4 separate regions of the Homo sapiens genome follow, and all the other regions are linked to region 1. Evidence: promoter capture Hi-C in 16 types of primary human blood cells and fetal thymus (Javierre and others, 2016). All regions are on one chromosome and are shown on one strand. Each heading gives the region's core, a stretch centred on a gene start or on the middle of the fragment in contact. The rest is flanking DNA. Distances are from core to core; before and after follow the strand shown. Region 1 holds the start of KRTAP4-2 (keratin associated protein 4-2). Region 2 overlaps KRT23 (keratin 23). Region 3 overlaps KRT40 (keratin 40). Region 4 has its middle 5.0 kb from the start of KRTAP17-1.

Region 1 (3,625 bases), core at 436-2,935:
TCTCAAGGGCACGATTCTTTTCCAGAATACAAGGTCTCCTGGAAATCTTAGAGTTGTTCTCGTACACCACCATGGGGCTCACAGGGTCTTAATTCCACAGCATCATGGAACCCACTTTCATCCCTCAATAAAATATGATGTCTGGGTACATCAGAGCCAGAGAACAGTGCAGGCTCAGAACACCAGCCAGCGCACCAAGCAGGGGTTCACTTGGGAGCCCAAGTTGTTTTCATTCTGCTTGAATCACCTGGAAATTAGGGCCAGGGCAGGAGTAGGAACTGGCTTGGAACATAGCAGCATCATAAGAACACCACAATTTGATTTATTAGACTTATAAGCACCTGAGAGAAGAAAGGGAATCTCCCTCATTCATCCAATCCCCTCCATCTGGTTCTTGGATCTCCCTCAGAAACACCAGCTTACACTGAAACTCCTCCCCTGATTATCTGCAGAGGCTGCCCAGTTCATAAAACATTTCTATCATGGTAAGTCAGACATTTTTCCACCCCCTTCCCTGGGTTCCTTGACTCCTCAGGGGTGGGGAAATACATATATATTTATTAACTGATGAGTTAATGAATTGACAACATAGCACATTTTTGAAACAATAGTCAGCCATCCCTACATGAAAAAATATAGGCTGATATCCTTTGTTCTTGATACCTGTTTTCTGCTTTCTTTCTCTCTTTATTGATTTATTTTTTGAAAACAAAGATGTAAAGTGTGAAATTGGATCAACAACTTCTATAAGGAAGCAGCAGAGTATAGGACATCTTCAAGGCCCAGCAATTCAGCAGAGAAAGCAAGAGGGCTGGGAGCGAATTAGAGCAAGCAAAGGATACTGAGTCATCTAATTTGGGTTGGCCAGAAAATTTTGGAACCTGGAGAGATGAGCTCATGTGCCCTGTTAGAGCTAGGAAGGCAGAAAGGCAAAGTCACAAGGAAAATCTGCCCCAGGGAGCAAAAAAATGAGGGACTTGGACCTTTAAGTATAGCTGTTCTCTGAAGCCAACATTCCCCAAGAGGCCCTGAATCTGAATTTTGGAGGGTTGTTTCTGTAGAAAAGGAAACATCAAACTTTCACAGCTTAGTTTTCCACCTTAAAACAGCTCTGTATTTCTCATCAGAAGGTCTAGAAAATGGGTCACAATTCAGAGTGCGGAAGATAAAAAAGCGATAGGTCCTACGGTGTTCTCGTTCTCACACCAGTGGTCATCTGTTTCACACTGAAATCTGTTTCACACTGAAACCTTCACAGGCCATCTGACCCATAATGAAGGAGCCATCAGACTGAAATGCAGCTTTATCCTCCTGAGTCACCAGAAAGAGTCAAGGGCCTGTAAGAATAGTAATCACCCAAGAGTAGTCATGATGTGTTAAGCAAATGAGACTGAAGCACATAGTATGTGCTTACAGGCAGATGTCACATGGCTGCTCTAGGAGGAAGCTATAGTAAGAGAGACACAGGAGGTGGTTCAGGAAGAGCTGAGCTAAGGAGTCCTAACACATTAGGGAAAGGAGACAGTGTTTCCATCTATGTGGATAAGTTAACCAGAACAACAAACTTGCCTAATTTGATAATTGCCTACATATCAGGACAAATAATAACAAGGAAAGAGTGTTGCATCTGATGACATCAGGCCTTAGCAGGGTATAAAAGAGGATCTGGGGCAAGGAAACTTCCAAACCTTCCAAACCCACCTTCCTGGAAATCCACCCAGAACCTCCACCCTCTGACACCATGGTCAACTCCTGTTGTGGCTCTGTGTGCTCTGACCAGGGCTGTGGCCTAGAGAACTGCTGCCGTCCCAGCTGCTGCCAGACCACCTGCTGCAGGACCACCTGCTGCCGCCCCAGCTGCTGTGTGTCCAGCTGCTGCAGACCGCAGTGCTGCCAGTCTGTGTGCTGCCAGCCCACCTGCTGCAGCCCCAGCTGCTGCCAGACCACTTGCTGCAGGACCACCTGCTGCCGTCCCAGCTGCTGTGTGTCCAGCTGCTTCAGACCCCAGTGCTGCCAGTCTGTGTACTGCCAGCCCACCTGCTGCCGCCCCAGCTGTGGCCAGACCACCTGCTGCAGGACCACCTGCTACCGCCCCAGCTGCTGTGTGTCCACCTGCTGCCGCCCAACCTGCTCTAGTGGCTCTTGCTGCTGATGCCCTCACCTATACTCACCTGCCTTTATTAACCAGCATTCTTGATATGATCCACCTGTGAACTGAATCATGCAAGGCCAATTGGACAACCTCAGTTCCAACCAATTCTTGGATTGAGTTTGGCCTCCAAATATGCTCACCAAACACTATGTTGCTACCCTCTACCAAATGAATACAAGTTTGAATTTTCTCTGAAATATGTCAACCCCATGTTCCCTGAATTGAAATATTTGCTCTCTACCATAATTTATCACATGGAGCTATTCCTCTATCTTAAATAAATTTTAATTTTTGAGGCATACAAATAATATACGGGCATTGTGTCTCATTTTTCCTTCTTGAATTCTCATCCTTACCTGTCAAATTTTCTGATGTTCTTCCCTGCAGAGGGAGAAGACCACAGCAGATGATATCAGGGGCTCCACCTCTATCCTATCAGCACTCTCCATTCAAACATAGGAAAATGGTTCCTTAGAGCAGGCACCTGGAACTCTCTACCTGAGGACTTTCTCTGGATAAAGGAGCAAACTCTGGGCTGGAGACTTAAAGCCTCTAGGAACAGCACTCAGAGAATGAGTGGGAGTTGGTAATATATGCCCTGGCTTGTTTCCCTCCAGTGGGGGGTATGTCAAACCAGTCTTCCAGAGGTCTTCAGCGGGATTTATACCAGATGCCTGCAGGAACATTCTGATCATGAACTCACTCTATAATGACTTTCCCTCCTTCCCAGGGTCATTCTTCAAGTTTCCTCCAGTGTTTCTTGGGTTAATCGTCCAAATATACCACATGTTCTCAGATCCTCTTTTGTGGGTTTGCCCCAGAGAGCACACAATCTAAAACAGCAGCATTCCTAATCTCAGTATTAGTGTCCTTCAAAATGTTTTTGTACAATATGAATGGTTACCATAGATTTTGATCAACTCTTGAGTTTACTGTCACCTGAATGGACACCTCTGAACATTTTGCTGTTTTTTTTCTTTTCAATTTTTGCGCATTACAATTTTTTTCTATTATTTGTTCATTTACTTTTTTGGTCTTCTTTTAAGAATTTTAATTTTTAAAGTTTTTATTTCAATATGCATGTTTGCTTTTAAACTAGTTGTCTTTGATTGTTTTTTTCTTCACATCGTTTTATCTGAGGGATAGGACACAACCACCGTGTTGGTGATTCTCATCCTAAAAAAGGCTATATTGAAAAAGGTTTCACCCTGAGCCATGCTGCTAAGTTGGAGGCACCAAAGAAAGATCTAAAACAGGATGTTTGCACAAGTGACTTTTATAAGAAAATGCTCTCAGGAGAAATCAGTAAGGAAATGTCGGAAACAGAATAGGATTGTAGAAGAGGCTAAGCCCAAAAGGATTTTATTGTCATTTGACCCCACAGGAAGCTCTAGAGTGTGAATGGTATTACAGACCCATCTTTCTGAGAGGTAAGGTCGTTGGAACTTTACAATCCTACATCAGTTACCACTA
Region 2 (3,625 bases), core at 1-2,500, 240 kb after region 1:
CACCTTCTCGGCTGCCTCAGCACAGCAAGCTTTATTCTGGGACCTGAGATCCTGTTCTGAGCTGGCTTTCCCTTCTCCAGGCTCGCTCACCCTCCCTTTAGAGGTGGGGCTTATTGGGGGTGGAAAAAGGTGTGTGTATCTCTGTTGTTTAATGTCTGGTTTTTTGTTGCTGTTGTTGTTGTTTTGTTTTGGTTTTGGTTTTTGGTTTTTTTTAAGGAAATCTATACTACATCGAATATGCTTTCTTTTGGGTGGACTTTAACCTAACCCATTCCAGGTAAATGAACAATGGAAAAACTTCACGGCAAGATTAGAAAGATACCTGAGCCCAATACCCGCCTGATGTCGTGGGCCACACCTCCGGGTTACCAGGGGAAGGGAGGAAGCAAACTGTCATATTGATGTGGCTCTAAACAACAACAGTGTGCGAAGGCCCAGGGGCACTTTGGGATTGACCAAGAGGAAACACAAGTTGCACAATGATACAATCTTGTTGGTACAATTGTCAGAGAAGGGAACTCCCACAGCAAAGGCCATAAAACCATCCAGGGCAGTCTGGGGCGGCTCAGTTCTGCGGTGCCAGGGAGTGGAGCAGAGCTCAGCCCCGTCCCAAACACAGATGGGACCATGAACTCCGGACACAGCTTCAGCCAGACCCCCTCGGCCTCCTTCCATGGCGCCGGAGGTGGCTGGGGCCGGCCCAGGAGCTTCCCCAGGGCTCCCACCGTCCATGGCGGTGCGGGGGGAGCCCGCATCTCCCTGTCCTTCACCACGCGGAGCTGCCCACCCCCTGGAGGGTCTTGGGGTTCTGGAAGAAGCAGCCCCCTACTAGGCGGAAATGGGAAGGCCACCATGCAGAATCTCAACGACCGCCTGGCCTCCTACCTGGAGAAGGTTCGCGCCCTGGAGGAGGCCAACATGAAGCTGGAAAGCCGCATCCTGAAATGGCACCAGCAGAGAGATCCTGGCAGTAAGAAAGATTATTCCCAGTATGAGGAAAACATCACACACCTGCAGGAGCAGGTAAGATGCTGGGTGACCCTGGAGATCCAGATGGGGCTGCTTTGCCAGGGGACCCTCGGGAGGAAAAATGAGTCCAGAAGACAATTTCCAGGAAAATGGCATCAGCGCTTGAAGTAATTGTGCACAAAGGTTTTGGGGGATGTTTTCTTATTATATCTTAAATTTGGAGTGGGAAACGTCTGTTTTGTTTAATTAGTCTACTGTCCATGGATAATGTAGAAAAAGAAGGCAGCAAAAATGATAGAAGTGCTACAGACTGTTTCAAAAATGAGACTACTGATTTCTCACAGACCAAAAACATCTTTAAAATGTGAGGCAACCAGCTGCTGTTTAATGTCACTTATGACCCAACGATGTCATAGAAATGATAAGGGCTGGTGTTCATGCTGCATGCTCAGTGCACCAGGCATAAGAGAGTGTTTACTTTCTCATTACCTCAGTTCTGCTCCACCTCAAACTTTTTTGAACAATGTGGTTATCCATCGACAAAAGGCTGTTACACTATTTTGAAGATTATGCCTAAAAGTTGTCACCACACCAGCATATAGGTCATCATGACATCCCTAGATATTTCCGTTTGTGGGTTGCTTGCAGTAAAGTTGCTCACAGTTCTGACAATGGCATATTGCTAGAACCAATAATAATAAAATGAGCATAATTTTTAGAATCTGAGAGTTGAGATGGCTATAAAGACCTTGTTCAAAAAAAACCGAACTCTTTAACCAAACCTCAAAAAAGCTAAGCAAATACCTTCTGGGATGTCTCATAACATTAGCTAGAAGTAGAAGGAATCCAATCATCTCATAGGTTATGTTTTAAAGCTATCTAACTCCCCTCTTATATAAAGCAGTCCCAGAAAATTCCCTGTAAGACCATGATTTAACCTCCCCTAGAAAGGGTATCACAAGTTTCCAATATTTATATATATTATTTCACAATGCTCAGTCATCCTTGCTTGAATGTAGGAAGGACCAGTCAAGATAATATAAATCTGTCCTTGTAATGAACCCTAATTATTGAATAATCAACCTAATAACTGACTGTAATTACCTTAACTATATAGTGCATGGTTGTCTTTATGAAAAAAAAAAAAAAACAAGGTGACTCAACAGTCCTCATCATGTTTTTTTGTTTAATAAAGTTGCTTTGGTTGTAGAAAGGAGGAATTGAAGATTTTTGCAAATGGAGAGCAAAGGGAGACCATGACTCCCAAAAGAAATACAAGGTTAGAACCAGTCAAATAATTTATGAGCTCGCGGAAGAGATTTAAAAAAAAGAAAGGGAGGAAAGAGAGGGAAATGTTTACTGAGCACTTATTATGTACCTAGGCATCCTGCTGGATATTTAATACACATGTCAACACTATCCAAGAGTTTTCTGCAATGATGGAAATGTTCCATATTATTTTATTTGATTCTGCAAGAACCCTGTAAGGAAATGGAAGCTTGGAAAAAAGTGAAATAGCCATCCAAAGCCATCAGCAAGAAGCAGAGGTGGGATTCTAACTCAGGTCTGTTTCCAGTAGCCTCATAAATTTCACTACAGTGTAGTGCTGCCTAGCCCACCTCATATAAAAATGACACTTAGTATGAATAAAGATAATGCATTATACTTGCATCATTAACCACACATCACATACTTCATACACATTGTCTCATTTAATCCTCACAACTGTGTGGAGCAGGTATTTGTATTCTCAACTTACAGATAAGGAGACTGAGACCTAATCATTGTCTAAATCCTTTGGAACAGAATTGAGAAAAGTGAGTAGGTGCAATGGGGGGTGTGGGGAGCAACCTGCCCACCCTTCAGATGACCTGGAATTCTGGGTTCTGAGATTGAATAGGAAACTTCTTTGGCTTTGAATTTCACTCTTTTCTGGATTTTTACCTCTAACATTGTGTTTTCTCTACACTTGAAGAAAGAAACTCTTTAAAGTTGAGGTTGTCTATCTACCCCAACCTCCCTCATTTGAAGATGAGAAAACAGAGGTGCAAGGAGGTCCCACAATTACCTGGGGCTTATCCTTCCTGGACCTTGGTGAAATGCTCTGAGTGGATACAGTTCTCCCGTACCCTCACTTTAGGTATATTAAATATCACTCAAAAGGTTGATAACAAGTTGAGCTTAAAAATTAATTCAATCCTTTTGAAATCCAGAATTGGACACAGTCATAGGAGTATCATAAATAAAACACCTTGAATGATTCTCAATCGGACTATATTTGGCATTTTTGTTTACAGTCAAACATTCTGTTTTCCTCTCCCTAGTAGATCAAACATCCTGAAGCAACAATGCTGCAAGAATATGCCAACTTGCTTTTAAAAGAATGAACTGAGGGCCTTCAGGAGAATCTGGGTGATTAATTACAACACTCAGTAAAAAACCTATGCCTCATATATCGTTTCTCAACCCATCTTCATCCACTTATTACCATGAAGATTGTGTCAGAAATGATGGTTATATCATAATTCTGTACTAAGTAAGCCTGAATAATGGGAAATAGTTTTAAACGTGCTCTATATCAAGCACATTTCAGAATTCACATTTGTGTGCTATGAGAATGATAGCTGGGGGAATCAGACACTTGAGGTGGACTTTG
Region 3 (3,625 bases), core at 535-3,034, 200 kb after region 1:
TAGCCGGGATTACAGGCAGGCGTGCACCGCCACACCTAGCTAATTTTTGTATTTTTAGTAGAGACAGGGTTTCACCATGTGGGCCAGGTTGGTCTCGAACTCCTGACCTCAGGTGATCTGCCCGCCTTGGCCTCCCAAAGTGCTGGGATTACAGGCATGAGCCACCACGCCCGGCTTTAATTTTAATTTGAAAATAACTTATGGCTCTCTCTCTCTCAATCTCTCTCTCTCACACACACACACACACACAAATATTCTCTATATAATATTTTAAAGTTAAGAATGTTTTAAAAGCTTGAATTTATCATTACTTAGGAATTAAGAGAAATTATGCACATGGCTTCCTGAAGTCCGTGTGTCGATCCTCCATGTATCCCCACACTTTGCACAGCGTTCAGCAAAGTAAGCGTTGGATTTCTCTTTTGCTGTGAAAGGTACGAGAGTGAACTGTCCCTTCGCCAGCTGTTAGAGGCTGACATCAGCAGCCTGCATGGGATCCTGGAGGAACTGACCCTGTGCAAATCTGATCTGGAGGCCCATGTGGAGTCTCTGAAGGAAGATCTCCTTTGCCTTAAGAAAAACCATGAAGAGGTAAGGAAAGTGGCAACTCCGCTGAAGGACTCCGAGAGTAACGTACTTACATTGACAGATGATCTGTTGATGTTTGTAAATCGAATTTGGGCAGATGTTGTTTAAGCTGGAATAAAACTACTTGAGGCAGGGCCAGGCATGGTGGCTCACACCTGTAATCCAAGCACTTTGGGAGGCTGAGGCAGGAGGATCACAAGGTCAGGAGTTCGAGACCAGCCTGACCAATATGATGAAACCTCATCTCTACTAAAAATACAAAAATTAGCTGGGCATGGTGGCAGGCGCCTGTAGTCCTAGCTACTCGGGAGGCTGAGGCAGGAGAATCACTTGAACTCAGGAGGCGGAGGTTGCAGTGAGCCGAGATCTTACCACTGCACTCCAGCCTGGGTGACAGGGCGAGACTCCATCTCAAAAAACAAACAAACAAACAAACAAACAAAAACTACTCGAGGCATTATTACTATTCAACCTGATCATTCCAGTGTGTCTCTGATTTAAGGTGTGAAATAACCCCTAGACAGCGCCAGAGGAAGGAATCAAACTCTTCTCCTGCCCTTGCCTTTGTGGAGGAGGTAACTTCACAAATGGCTTCCTTTGGAGGCTTTATGCCACCCCTAGCTCCAGTCCACAGGGTATGAAAATCAGGCTGAGGAACAGACTGTGAAGTCCATTTCAAAAAAGGGATAAAGACTGTGCACTATCTGGACCAGTGTTTTTAAATATTCCGCATTTATAAACTTCTAAAAATCATAAAATATACAGCCACTGATATATTGATAAAGCTAGAAAATGAAAAGCTGAATGATGTAACAAAGTACATTTGCTCTTTGAACGTTTGTTGATGACAATCATAGCTAACATTTATTGACACCTTACTATGTGTCATAATTAACTTTTATAAGTTAATTATGTGTAGATTGACTCTTCTAGATCTCACAATAACTTTCTGGAAAAATGTCCAATTATTATGTCCATTTTACAGACGAAGAAACTGAGGCCCTTCTAAGTGGTGAAAAGAGATTCAGCCCAGGCAATCTGAATCAAAATCTCACACTTTTACCCACTGCTCCAAAAAACAGAAGTAGAATGCCATTGGATGTCAAATGGATTTTTCCCCACCATTCTGTGACATTCTTTACACCATCCCACTTTCAGGAAGTCAACTTGCTTCGTGAACAGCTTGGCGACCGCCTCAGTGTGGAGCTGGACACTGCCCCCACCCTTGACCTCAACAGGGTCCTGGATGAGATGCGCTGTCAGTGTGAAACGGTGCTTGCCAACAATCGCAGAGAAGCTGAAGAATGGTTGGCTGTTCAGGTCAGTACCCAGATTGAAAAAATGTCAGGCTTACAGACTTCTGCCTTTTTTGAATTCTCTAATGGTGTCTGTGTTTCAGACAGAAGAGCTGAATCAGCAGCAACTGTCCAGCGCGGAGCAGCTGCAGGGCTGCCAGATGGAGATCTTGGAACTGAAACGCACAGCCAGTGCTCTGGAAATTGAGCTCCAAGCACAGCAAAGCCTGGTGCGTGAGGCAAAGGCAGTGTCCGTTGTGTCACTGATAAGTCAGGCCCTGAGATGTTAAGCCCTCTTCCATATCCGAGGATCACATTTCCTTGCCTTTCCCGAGTACTGCCGTTTACCCAGCTATTAATAGAAGCAGAAGTGACAGGTCCACAGCTTGTCCTCTAAGATGCCTTACCTTCACTCCTGGGCTTGAGTCTGATGCTGCAGCAGCCTCCAGAGACAGGGAGGGAGAAGCAGAGCTGGAGAGAAACCTCCGGGCCATGGTCGCTTAAGCATTCTGGCAGGTTTTAATTCTCATTTGATTCAGGCCAGTTTTCCAGGCTCACTGTTATATCTAAAACAAAGAATCATTTTCAAACATTTCATCCTACAGTTTCCCAGGATCTACACTTCAACCTTATCCTTCACTGCACCACCCCCCACTCAAGCAACAGGAACACCATGCGTTCAAGATGACATGAACCAGTTCTGGTCAAGCACCACTGTGTGCATGTCATTAGGCCCTGCGGAGAACACCTAGAAGAACAATAGCTGAGCATTCATCCTGTGAGAGGCACTATGCTGATTTAAGGCTCACAGTAACTTTACCGGATAGATACCTTTATCCCATGACACAGATAAGGAAAACTGAGACTCAGATTAAGTAACTTGCAAAGGATGCAATTCTAAGAGGCAAACTTGGAAGCTGAGTTCAGCCAGTTGAATCCCAGAGTCTCTTCTCTCTCTCTTTTTAAATTTATTTTTATTGATATATAATATGCGTAAATTTTTTTTACGTAGATGTGATATTTTGTTACATGCATAGAATGTGTAATGATCAAGTCAGGATATTTAGAGCATCCATCACCTCAAGTATTTATCATTTCTATGTGTTGGGAGCATTTCAAGTCCTCCCATCTAGCTATTTTGAAATGCACAGTGTATTGTTGTTAACTGTAGTCACACTTCTCTGCTGTCCAACATGAAAACATATTCTTTCTGTCTAACTGTATGTTTGCACCCATTAACCAACCTCTCTTCATCCCCTTACCACACATATGCCAGTCCCAGCCTCTGGTATCCAGAGCCTCTTCTCTTAATAGCACTATACTACCCCTCCCTGCCAAGAGCCCAAACTCAATCTTTCCTCTCATATGTTGTGGATAGTCCTTAAGCTTCACAAATATGTCATGTATTGCTGTAGTCATAGTGGTGGTAGTGATAGTTGACACGTAGAACAGTGGCAGTATGGCTGGCACTGTTCTAAATGCTTTACGCACATTAACTCTTTTTTTTTTTTTTTGGACGGAGTCTCCCTCTGTCGCCCAGGCTGGAGTGCAATGGCATGATCTTGACTTACTGCAAGCTTTGCCTCCCGGGTTCACACCATTCTCCTGAGTAGCTGGGACTACAGGCGTCCACCACCGTACCCAGCTAATTTTTTATATTTTTAGTAGAGACGGGGTTTCACCGTGTTAGCCAGGATGGTCTCGATCTTCTGACCTTGTGATCCGCCCGCCTCGGCCTCCCA
Region 4 (3,625 bases), core at 384-2,883, 140 kb before region 1:
GCTTGTGTAATATCATGAGATGAACACTAGAGGCTGCCAGAACAGACGACATGATTGCGTTTTTGATCTCTACATTCTGTTCTTTCTTGTACAGAAACTATTTTTTTTATTTATTAGAGACAGGGTCTCGCTCCATTGCCCAGGCTGGAGTGTAGTGGCTTGATCATGGCTCCTTGAGCTCAGTCACTGCAGCCTTGAGCTCTTAGGCTCAAGCCATCCTCCTGCCTCAGCCTTCTGAGTAGCTGGGACTACAGGCATGCACCACCACACCCAGCAAATTTTTTATTTTTTAATTTTTTGTAGAGGCAGGATCTTGTCAGCAAACTTCATTTAATAGGCAGTCAAGTTCCCCAATTAGGAAAACTAGGATTTTTTTTTTTTTTTGTAAAGCAGTATCTGCCACACACCAAAGTAAATTCCTGATGGATAGCAGCATTAAGTATAAAAAATACAACCATAAAATAGATGAAAATAAAGCAAATAGTTGTCTGATTTGGGGATGGAGGAGAACTTTTGAAACAAAACACTAGGAAAAAAAGATTTCCCTACATAGAAAGAAATTTCTGTGCGTAAAAATATAGACACAACTAAAAGAAAGTGATACACCCTGGGACAAATTTTGCAACATGTGTGAGTGACACAACGAAAAGTTAATATACCTGGCATAATAAAATAAGTTCATATAAGTAAGGTGGGAAAGATGGGTAGCTAATTAGAATGAGCAGATAATTTCTAAAAAGGAAATAACAGTGGCCTATAAAAATATGCAATGATAATTACTAAGTACAAATAAATACTATAATGAGACTTCATAATTGGCCTACCCAATTGACAAAGAGATTTTAAAAATAACAACTAATATTGGCGAAGGCACTGTGAAGTGAACACAAATGAGGACAATTTTTCTGGAGAGTAATTAAAAAAATAATTTCAACTTTTCTTTTGGATTCAGGGGGTATACGTGTAGGTTTGCTACCTGGGTATATATGCTGAGGTTTGTGGTACAATTGATCTCATCATCCAGATAGTGAGCATAGTAACCAATAGTTAGTTTTTCTACCCTTGCTCCTCTCCTTCCCTTTCCCCTCTCATAGTCTCCAGTGTCTATTGTTGCCATATTTACGTCCATGTGAATTCACTGTTTAGCTCCCACTTGTAAGTGAGAACACATGGTATTTAGCTTTCTGTTCTTGTATTAATTCACTTAGGATAATGGCCTCCAGCTGCATCCATGTTGCTGCAAATGACATGATTTTTTTTTTTATGGCCAGGTAGTATTCCATGGTGTATGTGTGCCACATTTTCCTTACATAGTCCACTGCTGATGGGCATTTAGGCTGATTCTATGTCTTTGCTATTGTGAATAGTGCTGCAATGAACATATAAGTGGATGTGTGTTTTTTTGGTAGAACGATTTATTTTCTTTTGGATGTATACCCAGTGATATAATTTGGATCTGTGTTCCTGCCCAAATCTCATGTTCAGTTGTTAATTCCCAGCGTTGCAGGTGGGTCCTGGTGGGAGGTGATTGGATCACAGGGGTGATTTCTGATGAATGGTTTAGCACTAGCCCCCTTGGTTGTGATAGTGAGTGAGTTCTTGTGAGATCTGGTCATTTAAAAGTGTGTAGCATCTCCCCACTCTCTCTCTTCCTCCTGCCCTGGCCATGTGAAGTGCCAGCTACCCTTTGCCTGCTGCCATGATTGTAAGTTTTCTGAGGCCTCCCCAGAACCTGAGAAGATGCCTGCATCATGCTTCCTGTATAGCTTATGAAACTGTGAGCCAATTAATCCTCTTTTCTTTCTAAATTACCCAGTCTCAGGCATTTCTTCATAGTAGTGCAAGAACAGACTAATACACCCAGTAATGGGATTGCTGGGTTGAATGGTAGTTCTATTTGAAGTTCTTTGAGAAATCTCTAAACTGCGTTCCACAGTGGCTGAACTAATTTACATTCCCACCAACAGTGTATAAGCGGTCCCTTTTCTCTACACCCTCACCAACATCTGTTGTTTTTTGACTTTTTAATAATTGCCATTCTGACTGGTGTGAGATGGTATCTTACTGTGGTTTTGATTTGCATTTCTCTGATGATTAATGATGTGGAGCATTTTTTCACATGTTTGTTGACCACTCGCATGTCTTCTTTTGAGAAGTGTCTGTTCATGTCTTTTGCCCACTTTTTAACAGGGTCATTTGTTTTTTCCTTGTTGAATTGTTTAAGTTTTTCATAGATTCTGGATATTAGATCTTTTTTGGATGCATAGTTTGTGGATATTTTCTTCCATTCTATAGGTTATCTGTTTACTCTGTTGATAGTTTCTTTTACTGTGCTGAAGCTCTTTCATTTAAATAGATCCCACTTGTCAATTTTTGTTTTTGTTGCATTTGTTTTTGAGAACTTAGTAATGCATTTTTTCCCAAGACTAGTGTTCAGAATGATGTTTCCTAGTTTTTCTTCTAGGATTCTTATAGTTTGAGGCCTTACATTTAAATCTTTAATCCATCTTGAGTTAATTTTTCTATATGGTGAAATACAGAGGTTGTTTAATTCTTCTGCATATGGCTAGCCAGTTATCCCAGCACCATTTATTGAATCGGGAGTCCTTTCCCCAATGCTTATTTTTGTTAACTTTGTCAAAGATCAGGTGGCTGTAGGTGAGCAGCTTTATTTCCGGATTCTCTATTCTGTTCCATTGTATATGTCTGTTTTTGTACCAGTACCATGCTGTTTTGGTTACTGTAGCTTTACACTATAGTTTGAAATTGGGTAACGTGATACCTTCCACTTTGTTCTTTCTGCTTAGGATTGCATTGGCTCTTTGGGATCTTTTCTGGTTCCATATGAAATTTAGAATAGTTTTTTCAAATTCTGTTAAAAATGATGTTGGTAGTTTGATAGTGTTGATTCTGGAGCCATGTTGCAACAGATACTGTATACTTACATCATTTTATATATATCTTGATATATCCCTGTCGTAAACTCTTAGAATATAAATTATTGGATCAATTAGTTTTTGCATTGGTAATTTTGATGGATATTGCCATAAAGGTTGTACCAATTTACACTCCCATCAGCAATGTGTGAGACTATCTGTCTCTTCACTCCTTATTACATAATGTGTTATCAAAATATATGACCTTGCAAATCTGGTAACAGATAGGATTTTGGAATTGTTTTAATCTGCTTTTCTGTTATTGTGAATGCAACTAAGCAATATTTCATATGCTCAAATGCTATTCATATTCCCTCTTCCATGAATTATCTTTTCATCTCCATTGTCAATTTTTCTACTCGGTTGCTGGTCTTTCTCTTTGATTGATGGAAATCCTTTGTTAAATAGAAAATGAAAGCAAGCTTTGTCTATGAGTTACTTGTATTGTTCCCAGGTTTTCATTTGCCTTTGACACTGTATTCAAATAATAATAATAATAAAATGTTTACATTATAAATTTCATACCTACACACTGCAAATTTCTAAAAAATACAAAAAAGAGAAGAAAATAAAAATCATTTATCATGCCACAATAAATACATTTACTGCTAATACTTTAGTTTTCCTTTTAGTGTTTTTTCAAATATCTGCATGTAAATATTTATATTAATGTAGATAAGTATCCATAA

What was found. Contacts are between HindIII fragments. The CHiCAGO score rates a contact against its expected background, and 5 or more counts as called.
Region 2: a contact is called between a fragment that was not itself captured here and the fragment with the promoter of KRTAP4-2 in region 1, in 1 of 17 cell types (naive B cells). The highest score is 5.4, in naive B cells.
Region 3: a fragment that was not itself captured here is called in contact with the fragment with the promoter of KRTAP4-2 in region 1 in 1 of 17 cell types (endothelial precursors); the score reaches 5.1 in endothelial precursors.
Region 4: a contact is called between a fragment that was not itself captured here and the fragment with the promoter of KRTAP4-2 in region 1, in 5 of 17 cell types (total CD4 T cells, naive CD8 T cells, naive B cells and 2 more). The highest score is 7.1, in total CD4 T cells.

What each region holds. Positions count from the first base shown.
Region 1 is chr17:41,176,281-41,179,905 of GRCh38, reverse strand. It overlaps KRTAP4-2 (keratin associated protein 4-2), which reads left to right and starts at 1,685. Exons shown (of 1, transcript NM_033062.4): 1 at 1,685-2,460. The coding sequence starts at 1,742. The coding sequence ends at 2,152. The HindIII fragment of the contact is 17,641 bases long and covers 1-3,625 here.
Region 2 is chr17:40,933,606-40,937,230 of GRCh38, reverse strand. It overlaps KRT23 (keratin 23), which reads left to right. Exons shown (of 9, transcript NM_015515.5): 2 at 278-1,023. The coding sequence starts at 628. All of the region lies in intron 1 of LOC107985072 (a long non-coding RNA gene), which reads right to left. Among named protein-coding and RNA genes, the nearest start is that of KRT23, 2.2 kb to the left of the region's middle. The HindIII fragment of the contact is 2,438 bases long and covers 32-2,469 here.
Region 3 is chr17:40,979,273-40,982,897 of GRCh38, reverse strand. It overlaps KRT40 (keratin 40), which reads left to right. Exons shown (of 7, transcript NM_001389244.1): 3 at 435-591; 4 at 1,747-1,908; 5 at 1,988-2,113. LOC107985072 (a long non-coding RNA gene) reads right to left here. Exons shown (of 4, transcript XR_001752886.2): 3 at 2,291-2,449; 4 at 1-570. Among named protein-coding and RNA genes, the nearest start is that of KRT40, 3.2 kb to the left of the region's middle. RefSeq lists an enhancer at 2,291-2,892. The HindIII fragment of the contact is 2,975 bases long and covers 297-3,271 here.
Region 4 is chr17:41,318,913-41,322,537 of GRCh38, reverse strand. No RefSeq gene overlaps it. Among named protein-coding and RNA genes, the nearest start is that of KRTAP17-1, 5.0 kb to the right of the region's middle. The HindIII fragment of the contact is 3,454 bases long and covers 1-3,360 here.